Linked DNA regions of Homo sapiens: region 1 is linked to region 2. The links are contacts of gene promoters, found by promoter capture Hi-C in human tissues and cell types (Jung and others, 2019). All regions are on one chromosome and are shown on one strand. The core of a region is centred on a gene start or on the middle of the fragment in contact, and the rest is flanking DNA. Distances in the headings are between cores, read along the strand shown.

The links. The method cuts DNA at HindIII sites, captures the fragments that hold promoters and counts their contacts. A contact is called where the count stands out against the background at its distance.
Region 1: a fragment that was not itself captured here is called in contact with the fragment with the promoter of ZNF566 in region 2 in 1 of the 25 tissues and cell types used here (pancreas).

The regions. Positions count from the first base shown.
Region 1 is chr19:36,251,722-36,257,829 of GRCh38, reverse strand. No RefSeq gene overlaps it. Among named protein-coding and RNA genes, the nearest start is that of CYKILR, 14 kb to the left of the region's middle. RefSeq lists an enhancer at 1-35. The HindIII fragment of the contact is 4,412 bases long and covers 46-4,457 here.
Region 2 is chr19:36,487,124-36,492,458 of GRCh38, reverse strand. It overlaps ZNF566 (zinc finger protein 566), which reads left to right and starts at 2,898. Exons shown (of 5, transcript NM_001145344.1): 1 at 2,898-2,973. ZNF566-AS1 (ZNF566 antisense RNA 1) reads right to left here and starts at 2,832. Exons shown (of 1, transcript NR_036504.1): 1 at 1,419-2,832. RefSeq lists enhancers at 2,029-2,914, 2,409-2,968, 3,529-3,608, 2,915-3,802. The HindIII fragment of the contact is 11,175 bases long and covers 1-5,335 here.

The DNA of each region.
Region 1 (6,108 bases), core at 1,002-3,501, 230 kb after region 2:
GAGACCATCCTGTTAATGCCCTGGCCAGGACTGATCTCAGCCCCGACTCTGACGCTCGGTCACAGAGGGTTCCTACTTGGCCCAGTCTCAGGGACTCACCCCGGGGCAACGGTGGTGATCCCTGTGACCAAAGCGGCGGCTCCGGCCTCGCGCATGCGCACTGGAGAGGCCGACTCGCCCCTCGCCCCAGAGAGTCAGGCTGCGGACCCTTTAAAAAATGGCGGCGACGCGGCAGGTTGCGGGGACCGGGGCGGCGGTGGCGGCGCTTGCGGCGGCGAAGGCAGCGCAGCCCGAGGCGGCGGGTGGGAAGAGGATTGCCAGAGGGGCCTGCGGGAGACCCAGGGTCGGACCCGTAGGGGTCCTGCCGTCAGGACCTCCTTGATCGGTCTTCTGCTTCGTTCCCAGTGGAGGAGGAGCTTCAGGGTGCCGGCTGGGCTGTGCAGACTCCTCTTCGGCTCCGAGGATGGATCCCACCGGGTGATCGAGAATGGGGTTGCAATGCAGTGAGGCGGGAAGGGTCTCGCTGGGGCACAGAAAGATCCCCAGAGCCCCAAGGCGTGCTGTCGGCGGAAAATGAACTGACACACGAGCCCACTGCCTCCCTCCTTCCTGGGTGGAGCAGTGGCCTGCCTTCATCTCCAAGGCCCGGGGGCTCCGGCATACCGACACTGCTTCCCGCGACACGTGCAAAGACAGACATAGGCGAGTCCGAGATGGAGCCAGTGTGACCACACGTGGCACCGACGTCCCCAAAAGCAGATGGAGTGAGCAGGTGTCTTTGAGGCCGTAGGGGGCGATGGCGAGACGGACAGTGGTGTCCAGCCGTGCGCCCGGGGGCCACGGGAGACCTCCGCAACAAAGCTGAGGAAAAGCCAAGCGCACCTGAAAACCTGCGAGACAGGGCCTGCGCCCGAATCCAAGCCACATTCAGAGATGCCTGCCAGAGGGGCCGAGAGCTTTCCACAAACTACACCCCACCCCCACCCCGCGACCGGGTAGGTACCCCCGACGCGACCTCCCCTGCACCCAGCAAAACCCAGTCCCTTTGGCTCCCTGACATCCGTGGCAGCCAGAAGATTCAGTGCTAGAAGTCTCTTTCCCCAGGAGCAGAGGAACCCGATGGCCCTCAAGAATCAGAGAGGAAGTGCAGGTGGCATGCCACACCGCCTTTCCTAGAAGGCAAATGTCAGGAACGGTCGGGTTGCCTCCCGCTCTTCCTGGACCGACCACGGGGCCACAGAGACCCAGAAAGCTTCCCTGTCCCAGACAGCTATGAAAGCCCAGAGCTCCAGGATCACCACACCTGCCCAATCATGCTGAAAGAGGTTTGGAGAAGGAAACAATCATGACACCGACCCCCAGGAACTTTCTCCCGGATGGACTGGGAAGTCTTCTGGGTTGAAGACATTGAGCCAGACTAACAAGCCCCTAGGCCTCTCAGAAACAGGGCAGACAGAGCAAGAGGGAGGACAGAGCAGAGGCCAGAGCCCAGGCAGGATTGGCGGCAATGCCACCACCACGGCCATCCGGGGAGGAGTGCCAAACGGGTGACTTGGCCACGAAGGCCAGCGTTGGAGCCACAGAGATGTTTGCCCCATCCCGTTGCCGGCTTCCTTTTCCGTCCCTGTATCGAGCTGTGGCTAGATTTCTCAGTGAGGGCACACGCGAGAGGATTGAGAGGAGTGAGGTCGATGGGCACCTCGACCTGCATAAGCAGGTTTATGATGAGCTTTTGTGAGAATTTTTTCCTTTGCTGGGGTGTAGTTGTCTTGATTCTAGCAATGAGGCCGCTCATGATTGGGAGCTGATTTAATCCCCGCCGTGTCTCATGTAGCTCCCCACGTTGCCCACCGGTCACGAACCCAAACTGTAACCGCCTGGAAAACGAATGACACCCGGCCACATGACCCAGACAGAGATGCGAGGAGAGACTCACCAGAAGAAAGGCCAAGGTACAAGAAACCGCCCTTCATTGCCCATGCATCCCAACACACGCACGCACCCGCGCACACACGGACGGAAACTGGTAGAGAGTGATAGACGGAGAATGAAAACAGAAATAAGAGAAAGAGACACAACCCAGACATACTGCAGTGGCACAGTAACATTCATCTCCAGGCAGCCCCTGAAGCCTCTGGGTTCTGCTCTGAGCGACAACGACCCTGGGGTGAGAGAGCAGCCCTTGGGCATACAAGCAGACCTGTCCTGGAGATCGCAAGGGCACGACTTTTGGGGAGACTCACCGGCACACCGTCCACGCAGGCCTGAGCCTGGGATACTGCGCTGCTTCCCAGACGCTCCGCCTGAGGTTTCTTCCTCCTGGTCGAACCTCCGCGAATCCTGGCCTCCGGATACCATCCCGTCGACGCCCCAGTGAGGACTAGACTTAGCCCCGAGCCGATGCGCTGCTACAGAAGGCTCCTCCTTCGCAGAGAGTGAAGAACTCATCTCCAGGCAACGGTGGCGGTCTCTGTGACGTGAGCATCCGCTCGCGATTTGTGTATGCGCCTTGCCAAGGCTGACTGCGCTCTGCTCTGGATCAGGCTGCAGCCCCTGAAAAAAATTGCTGGGGCTGTGTGTGTGAATGGGAGTGTGCATGTATGTCTTTGGACAAACGTCCCCTGTTCTCTGGAGGGCAGTTTCTTGCATGTTGGCCTTTTTGGTGAGCCTCTTTCTCGGTCTCTGCCTGGGTCGTGTAGCCGGTCCTGTGACTGGAACGGGCAGTCATTTTCCTGGCAGTTGCACTTTTGGTTTCTGAAGGCCTTGGCGAGGTTTGGTGCTGTGTCGGACCCGCAGGCGTTCAAGTCACCTGCCCATTCTGAGTGACCTTTTTTCTAAAATCCTCCACCCAGGAGCAGAGGACCCGGATGTCTCTCAAGAATTAGAAAGGAAGTGCAGATTATTGCTAAGCACATGGTAGCTAACACTGGATAGATGAGATGAACATTGGTTTGCTAATTACCCATACTTTCGCCCCAGGGAAGGAGAGCCCAGCACACCATGTGGGGTACAGTGTGTTGCACTCAGGAACACAGTAATCAGGTGGAGGCTATTCCAGGAGGCTTTGTAGTACCAAGAGTATGGGAGGTAACCCCTGGTTCTTGAAGGAGGGTGTGAATGGCCTGTTTGAATAATTCTGCAGGCTGGCTGGAACCTGACGCCCACTACTACGCAGTAAGCAGGTACTGTGCCTGGCCTCTGAAGGAAGTGCTTGGGCTAGGGCACCTTATTCAAAGGAGTACATTGGGGCAGGGAATTTGCAGTTAATCCATTCAGCCCTCCTTGTTTTCCCCCAGTGTCAGGGCACGTATAACATTGAGCCTTAATCTTAGGCCTTAACCTTGACCCCTTGATGCCTTGACATCTCTTGGCAATACTGAGACTTCTAGAATGTAGAAGTTTTACTGGATGGAAGGTCTTGACTGCAAGTTGTCCATGTTTCTGGCTCACTGAAGAAAGAATTAAACAAACTACACGAAGCAACAAAAGATCAAAGCCACGAAAGAAGAAAGAAGCAACGAAACTGCAGATTTATTGAAGCAAAAGTCCACTCTACAGAGCCAGAGTGGGCTAGAGCAAGCGGCTCAGGAGCCCAGATTACAATGTTCTTTAGAGTTATTAAGCTAAAGAATTTGATAACACCCATAAGTGCCTTTTCGAGGTCTTCAATTGGTTACACCCTATGAAGGATTGGCCCGTGGCCAGAGGCTGAACTGGAGACTTCTGTGTTGTCATCACAGGAGTGAGGATGTGGCCTGTGTGCTGCTTAACCTGGCCTAGAACTTGCTGCACCTGCTGTTCTTTTGCTTCCACCTTAACCCTTGGTTATGCTAATTTTCTTTTCCTTTTTGTTTTGAGACGGAGTCTCGCTCTGTCGCCCAGGCTGGAGTGCAGTGGCGGAATCTCAGCTCACTGCAAGCTCCACCTCCTGGGTTCACGCCATTCTCCTGCCTCAGCCTCCTGAGTAGCTGGGACTACAGGCGCCTGCCACCATGCCTGGCTTATTTTTTGTATTTTTAGTTGAGACGGGGTTTTACCCTGTTAGCCAGGATAGTCTGGAACTCCTGACCTCATGATCTGCCTGCCTCGGACTCTGAAAGTGTTGGGATTACAGGCGTGAGCCACTGCGCCTGGCTTGGTTATACTAATTTCCTATTCTCCTGCCTCAGAAGTGCCTCTCTAGGAAGCCAAGCAGGCTCTTACCTGCTTCAGGTGAGCAGGTAACCAGGAGGGAGAGGACCACAGTTGCTATCATGGCTATGATTCGGGTTTGGAAACCTGTGCAGAGCCTTTGGCTCCACTTGGTATGGGATAGCCAAGAGAACAGTTAATGTGGTTTTCGAATCATGATATGTCTTTGAATATTTGTGTAACCTTATGTATTACCATCAGTTTTTATTTGTTAGGTGCAGTTGTTCTTGCTCATATTATTATTATTATTATTTTGAGACAGAGTCTCATTCTGTTGCCAGGCTGGAGTGCAATGCTGCCATATCAGCTCACTGCAACCTCCGACTCTTGCGTTCAAGCGATTCTCCTGACTCAGCCTCCCAAGTAGCTGGGAATACAGGCGTGTACCACCACACCCAGCTAATTTTTGTATTTTTAGTAGAGATGAGGTTTCACCATGTTGGCCAGGATGATCTCTTGACCTCATGATCCACCCACCTCAGCCTTCCAAAGTGCTGGGATTACAGGCGTGAGCCACCGCGCCCAGCCAAAAATTTTTTAAGTAAAATAAAATATGTCAGTATAGGCCAGGTGCAGTGGCTCACATCTGTAATCCCAGCACTTTGGGAGGCTGAGATAGGAGGATCACTTGAGTTCAGGAGTTCAAGACCAGCCTGCACAACACAGCAAGACCCCACCTCTAAAGAAAAAAAAGTGTGTGTGTGTGTGTGTGTGTGTGTGTGTAATATGACATAAACAAGTGTGGGTATATCAGTCATTGTTCACCAGTTACTGATGCTGTATAATACACCACTCCAAACTCAGTAGTATAATACAATGATTTTACTGTGCTCACTGATTCTGTGGGTTAGGAATTCAGACAGCTCACAGAGCAGATAGTTTGCCCCTGCTCCTGATGTCTGTGGCCTCAACCAGGAGGATTCAAAGGCTGGGAATAACCTGATACCTGAGGGCTGCAAACCTATGAAGCCTGCTTTGCACACATGTCTGGTACCTGGGGTGGGAGGACTCAAAGACTTGGACTAGTAGCCTCCCCATGTGACTTGGCTTCCTCATAGCATGGCGGCTCAGAGCACTTGGACCTTCTTAGATAATGGCTCAAGATTTCAAACACTGGAGTTTCAGCTAATGAGGTGAAGGCCACAGTGCCTCTTAAACTGAGCCCTGGGAGTCACACAGCATTGGTTATAAACAATAAACCAATCCAGATTCAAAGGCAGAGGAGTTAGACTCCACCTCTTAAAGTGGGAATGGCAAGATTCTAGAATAACATATGGAACAAGCCTATTATTGCAACCATCTTTGGAAAATACAATCTGCTGCAATCACCTTTGGAAACTAGGAAACCAATGCAGTATTCTGAAATTCGTAATTCTGAAAACTAATGAATATGAATGGAAAGAATCAAGCATTTATCCTCCCTTTCCTACACATGCTATCCCTCTGAGTAATCAGATTGTTGATGTGGGCAGATTTTATTTTTATAAAAGGATTCTAGTAATGGAAATTCCAGTAATGGAAATAAAAGGATTCCAGTAATGGCTGAAAGAGAGACACAATAAGAAAGTGATCAGTTTGCAACTCCTAACAACATAATGAATCTAGGCATTGATCATCAGTGAATGCATGACATTATGCAAAAGGCAATCACTTTACAATGGATAAATCACATTGATGACACTTAAGCCCACTAACAAATCTGATCACAAAATAGTGACAAGCAGATCTTGCCAAAATAACTGAACTTGAATTTGATCAAGTCTCTAGAGCACAGTTTCTCAACTCTGACACTATTTTCACTTTGGACCAGATAATTCTTTGGGATGGGAGGAGGCTGTCCTGTACAGTATAGGATGTTTAGCAGCACCCTGGCCTCTAGCCAATAGGTGCCAGCAATACCATCCTTCCTTCCAGTTG
Region 2 (5,335 bases), core at 1,649-4,148:
ATGTATCCTTTTTTTTTTTGAGACCGAGTCTCACTCTGTCGCCCAGGCTGGAGTGCAGTGGTGCAATCTTGGCTCACTGCAACCTCTGCCTCCTGGGTTCAAGCGATTCTCCTGCCTCAGCCTCCCGAGTAGCTGGGACTACAGGCGCGCACCACCATGCCCGGCTAATTTTTGCATTTTTAGTATAGACGGGGTTTACACCATGTTGCCCAGGCTGGTCTCAAACCCCTCAGCCTCCCAAAGTGCTGGGATTTCAGGCGTGAACCACCGCACCCGGCCAGAATATATCCTTATTATTTATTTATTTATTTTTTTTTAATTGATCATTCTTGGGTGTTTCTTGCAGAGGGGGATTTGGCAGGGTCATAGGACGATAGTGGAGGGAATGTCAGCAGATAAACAAGTGAACAAAGGTCTCTGGTTTTCCTAGGCAGAGGACCCTGCGGCCTTCGGCAGTGTTTGTGTCCCTGGGTACTTAAGATTAGGGAGTGGTGATGACTCTTAACGAGCATGCTGCCTTCAAGCATCTGTTTAACAAAGCACATCTTGCACCGCCCTTAATCCATTTAACCCTGAGTGGACACAGCACATGTTTCAGAGAGCACAGGGTTGGGGGTAAGGTCACAGATCAACAGGATCCCAAGGCAGAAGAATTTTTCTTAGTACAGAACAAAATGAAAAGACTCCCATATCTACGTCTTTCTACACAGACACGGCAACCATCCGATTTCTCAATCTTTTCCCCACCTTTCCCGCCTTTCTATTCCACAACACCGCCATTGTCATCATGGCCCGTTCTCAATGAGCTGTTGGGTACACCTCCCAGATGGGGTCGTGGCCAGGCAGAGGGGCTCCTCACTTCCCAGTAGGGGCGGCCGGGCAGAGGCGCCCCTCACCTCCCGGACGGAGAGGCTGGCCGGGCGGGGGGCTGACCCCCCCCCACCTCCCTCCCGGACGGGGCGGCTGGCCGGGCAGAGGGGCTCCTCAATTCCCAGTAGGGGTGGCCAGGCAGAGGCGCCCCTCGCCTCCCGGACGGGGCGGCTGGCCGGGCGGGGGACTGACCCCCCCACCTCCCTCCCGAACGGGGCGGCTGGCCGGGCGGGGGGCTGACCCCCCCACCTCCCTCCCGGACGGGGCGGCTGGCCTGGCGGGGGTGACCCCCACCTCCCTCCCGGATGGGGTGGCTGCCGGGCGGAGACGCTCCTCACTTCCCAGACGGGGTGGCTGCCGGACGGAGGGGCTCCTCACTTCTCAGACGGGGCGGCTGCCGGGCGGAGGGGCTCCTCACTTCTCAGACGGGGCGGTTGCCAGGCAGAGGGTCTCACTTCTCAGACGGGGCGGCCGGGCAGAGACGCTCCTCACCTCCCAGACGGGGTCGCGGCCAGGCAGAGGCGTTCCTCACATCCCAGACGGGGCGGCGGGGCAGAGGCGCTCCCCACATCCCAGACGATGGGCGGCCTGGCAGAGACGCTCCTCACTTTCCAGACTGGGCAGCCAGGCAGAGGGGCTCCTCACATCCCAGACGATGGGCGGCCAGGCAGAGAAGCTCCTCACTTCCCAGATGGGGTGGCGGCGGGGCAGAGGCTGCAATCTCGGCTCTTTGGGGGGCCAAAGCAGGCGGCTGGGAGGAGGTTGTAGCGAGCCGAGATCACGCCACTGCACTCCAGCCTGGGCACCATTGAGCACTGAGTGAACAAGACTCCGTCTGCAATCCCGGCACCTCGGGAGGCCGAGGCTGGCGGACCACTCGCGGTTAGGAGCTGGAGACCAGCCCGGCCAACACAGCGAAACCCTGTGTTTGGTGGAGACCAAAAAAATACGAAAACCAGTCAGGCGTGGCGGCGCGCGCCTGCAATCGCAGGCACTCGGCAGGCTGAGGCAGGAGAATCAGGCAGGGAGGTTGCAGTGAGCCGAGAGGGCAGCAGTACAGTCCAGCTTTGGCTCGGCATCAGAGGGAGACCGTGGAAAGAGAGGGAGAGGGAGACCGTGGGGAGAGCATATATCCTTATTATTAAACTATGCATGACTGTGTATACAATACCTTTATAGGTCAAAAGCAGTCAAATACTGGCCATGAGATACACTTAGTCCAAGTACACAAATAATTGCAGAAGGAGAAAGTGAAACTCCTCTTACTTCCTGCCCCACTCATTTATCACAAAGCACACAGAAGTCAGAATAACACCTGCCCTTTGCAATTTCAGACTCCTCTCTTTCTGCCTCTCCAAACCTGTCCCACGTTTGGCGATTCCTTTCCCTTCGACCTCCCCCCATCAGGTCGCAGGTTCCTGGTCTACACCCCTTCTGCGTCCCCAACCACTTCTGAGTCTCACAACCTCTGGTCCCATAACCCCTCTGCACTAAGGAGCAATAAACAAAATTCACGCCCGAACAAAGAGGCCAAAACAGCAACCCAGGATGTTTGCGCCTGCGCACTCTGGGCGCACAGTACTCAGGCCGGCAGCCCAGCACCGGCTTATCTGTGAGAGCAATTAAGATGACTTTCGGAGGGTCCAACCGCCTTCCCAGCTCCGAACTACATCTCCCAGAAGGCTCAGTTGTGCGATTATCTTTCCATGCAGACTTGTCCTCTTTCTGAGGCTGTCCAGCGCCTGGGGGCAGTAGGACGGGTCCGGGAACTAAGCCCATCTCAAACACGTCGGAGTGGCTTTCTTTGGGGGCCAAGGCCCGAGCCTGAGGCGGGACTCCATGAGGCCTCTGGGGCGCGAGCGGTTTGACTAGGGGGGGCGATCCTTTCGGCGGGGCTGACGCAAGGCGCGGACAGGAATTCTGACGATCGGGAACCATCTTGTCCGGCCTTGATACGTCTCTGACTACGCTTCCCAGAGGTCTCCTCGGCAAGACTGTACTTCTCGCGGTAATTCAGCTTCCAACTCACGCGCTGGCGGGACCCTCAGGGCTTTACCAGCAACTACCCCAGTGCCGGGGAGGGTTCTGCTGCTTCGAAAGCTGGTAAGGCCTGAGGTGAGAAACCCGGGAGAGGGCGGGGCCGGGGGCCAAGCCTCGGCTTTGTGCGGCGGTGGAGGTGAGATTGAAAGCGTGCGCTTGCGTCTGTGTGGAGGTGTGTGGTGAATGATCGCGCGATTGTGACAGGCTGCCCTTGTGATGAGTGTGTTTCCAACGCTCACACCGTGTGCAGCACGGCCTCGGAGACTGTGGCTGCTGGTGTGTGTGTGAGAGGGAGCAGGACCACGTGCGGCATTGTGTGTGCGGCTGTGGGGAGCTTGTGCCTGGTTGAGTGTTACTGCGTTTGTCCCCGTAGTGGTGTGCGACTATATGCTGTGTGACTGTGTGCGGCAGAGTTCAGGTGGGGATACCTGCGAGTAACTGCATGTTTCTATCTGTGTGTGTGGCTGTGGTTAATGTGTGATCGTGACTGTGACCCGGTACAGGTGTGCGCCGACTGTGACAATGTGGTTGTGACTGTGACTGCCTCCTCGGTAAGCGTGCACTTGTGCTTATGTGACCGATAGAGGCCCTGCGTGTGCGACCCTGTTGCTTTGGGCGTGGATTGTCTGTAGCTGAATGTCCCCATGGTGGGAGTGTGATCAGGTTTGTGTGGCAGGGTAAGTCACACAGTGTGAGGTTTTATCACTTACGTATACTTCTCTAGGCATTATACTCCAGTTTTTCCCCGTTTTAAAACTTTATATGAATGTTGTCATACTGTCTTTGGTTTATTTTTACAATTCTGTGAATCATCCCTATTAGATAAAATCGCGGTTAATTCAATTTCTTTGCTATATTCTCCCTTCTGAAGTATACCACAATTATTCATCCTTTCTAGTAATGATGCCCTATTAGTTATTTATAGCTTTTCATTTTATAAACAACACAGCCACATTCTTTCACATGGGGTACACATGCTTGAGTTTATTTACCAGCAGAATTGCCGGTTCATATATCTTCCACTTTACTAAACAGTGTCAAAATATATACCCGAGTGGCTGCACAAATTTGTACTTGAACAGCAATGTTTGAAATATCTTATTGCTCCATATCCCTACCAAAGCATAGTTCCAAGAGTTAAAAAAATTTTTGTAGGCCAAGTGTGGAGGCTCATGCGTGTAATCCCAGCACTTTGCCAGGCCAAGGTGAGAGGATCACTTGAGGCCAGGAGCTGGAGACCAGCCTGGGCAACATAGTGAGACCCTAACTCTACCATAAATACATACATACATAAAAAATTAGCCGGGCATGGTGGCTGGCACCTATAAGTCCTAGCTACTCAGGAGGTTGAGATGAGAGGATCGCTTGAGCCCAGTGCTTTGCAGCTGCAGGAAGCCATGATCATACCACTGCCCTTCAGCCTGGGCAACAGAGCAGGAGGCTGTCAATAGATACATAGAGCCTATATAAAGTGTGCAAATCTTAAGTGTACAGCTGTGTAACACTCTTAGATCTATACAAAGAACTTTGCCAGGACCTGAGATGCTTCCCTCATACCACTTCTCAGTAATTTCTCCCCCACACAATCTATTCAGAATTCTATCATTAACTAGTTTTACCCATTCTTTTTTTTTTTTTTTTTTTTTTTTTTGAGACAGAGTCTTGCTCTTGTCACCCAGGCTGGAGTGCAGTGATGCAATCTTGGCTCACTGCAACCTCCGCCTCCTGGGTTCAAACGATTCTCCTGCCTCAGCCTCCTGAGTAGCTGGGATTACAGGCACCCATCACACCCGGCTAATTTTTGTATTTTTAGTAGAGACAGGGTTTCCCCATGTTGGCAAAGCTAGTCCTGACCTCAGGTGATCCGCCCACCTTGGCCTCCCAAAGTGCTGGGATTACAGGCATGAGCCAGTGCATCTGGCTGTCTTACACATTCTTGAACTTCATGTATATATGCAATTATGCAGCATGTACTGTTTTATGCCAGGCTTCTTTTGTTATATATTATGTTTGTGAAATTCATTCATGTTGTTCAGTGTAATTGTACTTAGCTCTCACTATACTGGGGATATATTGTAGTATATTAGTCGATTACATTGTTGATGGATATTTGGGTAGCTTCCAATTTGGGGCTGTTACAAATGATGCTGCAGCTGTGAACACTCTGCTGTGTTTTTGGTGAACACATGAAGGCTTTTCTCCCGGGTTAATACTTAGGAGTGGCATTGCTAGATCATAGGGTAGGCTAATGTTTAATAGATACTACGAAGCTCTCATGTGGTTGTTCCAGTTTACACTCCATCCAGCAATGTATGAGAGTTCCAGTTGCTTCATATCCTCTCCGTAATTTGGTATGGTTAGTCTTTTAACTATTTTATTGGTTGTGTGGTGCAGTTTCATCATAGGTTTTTGTTTTGGTTTGTTT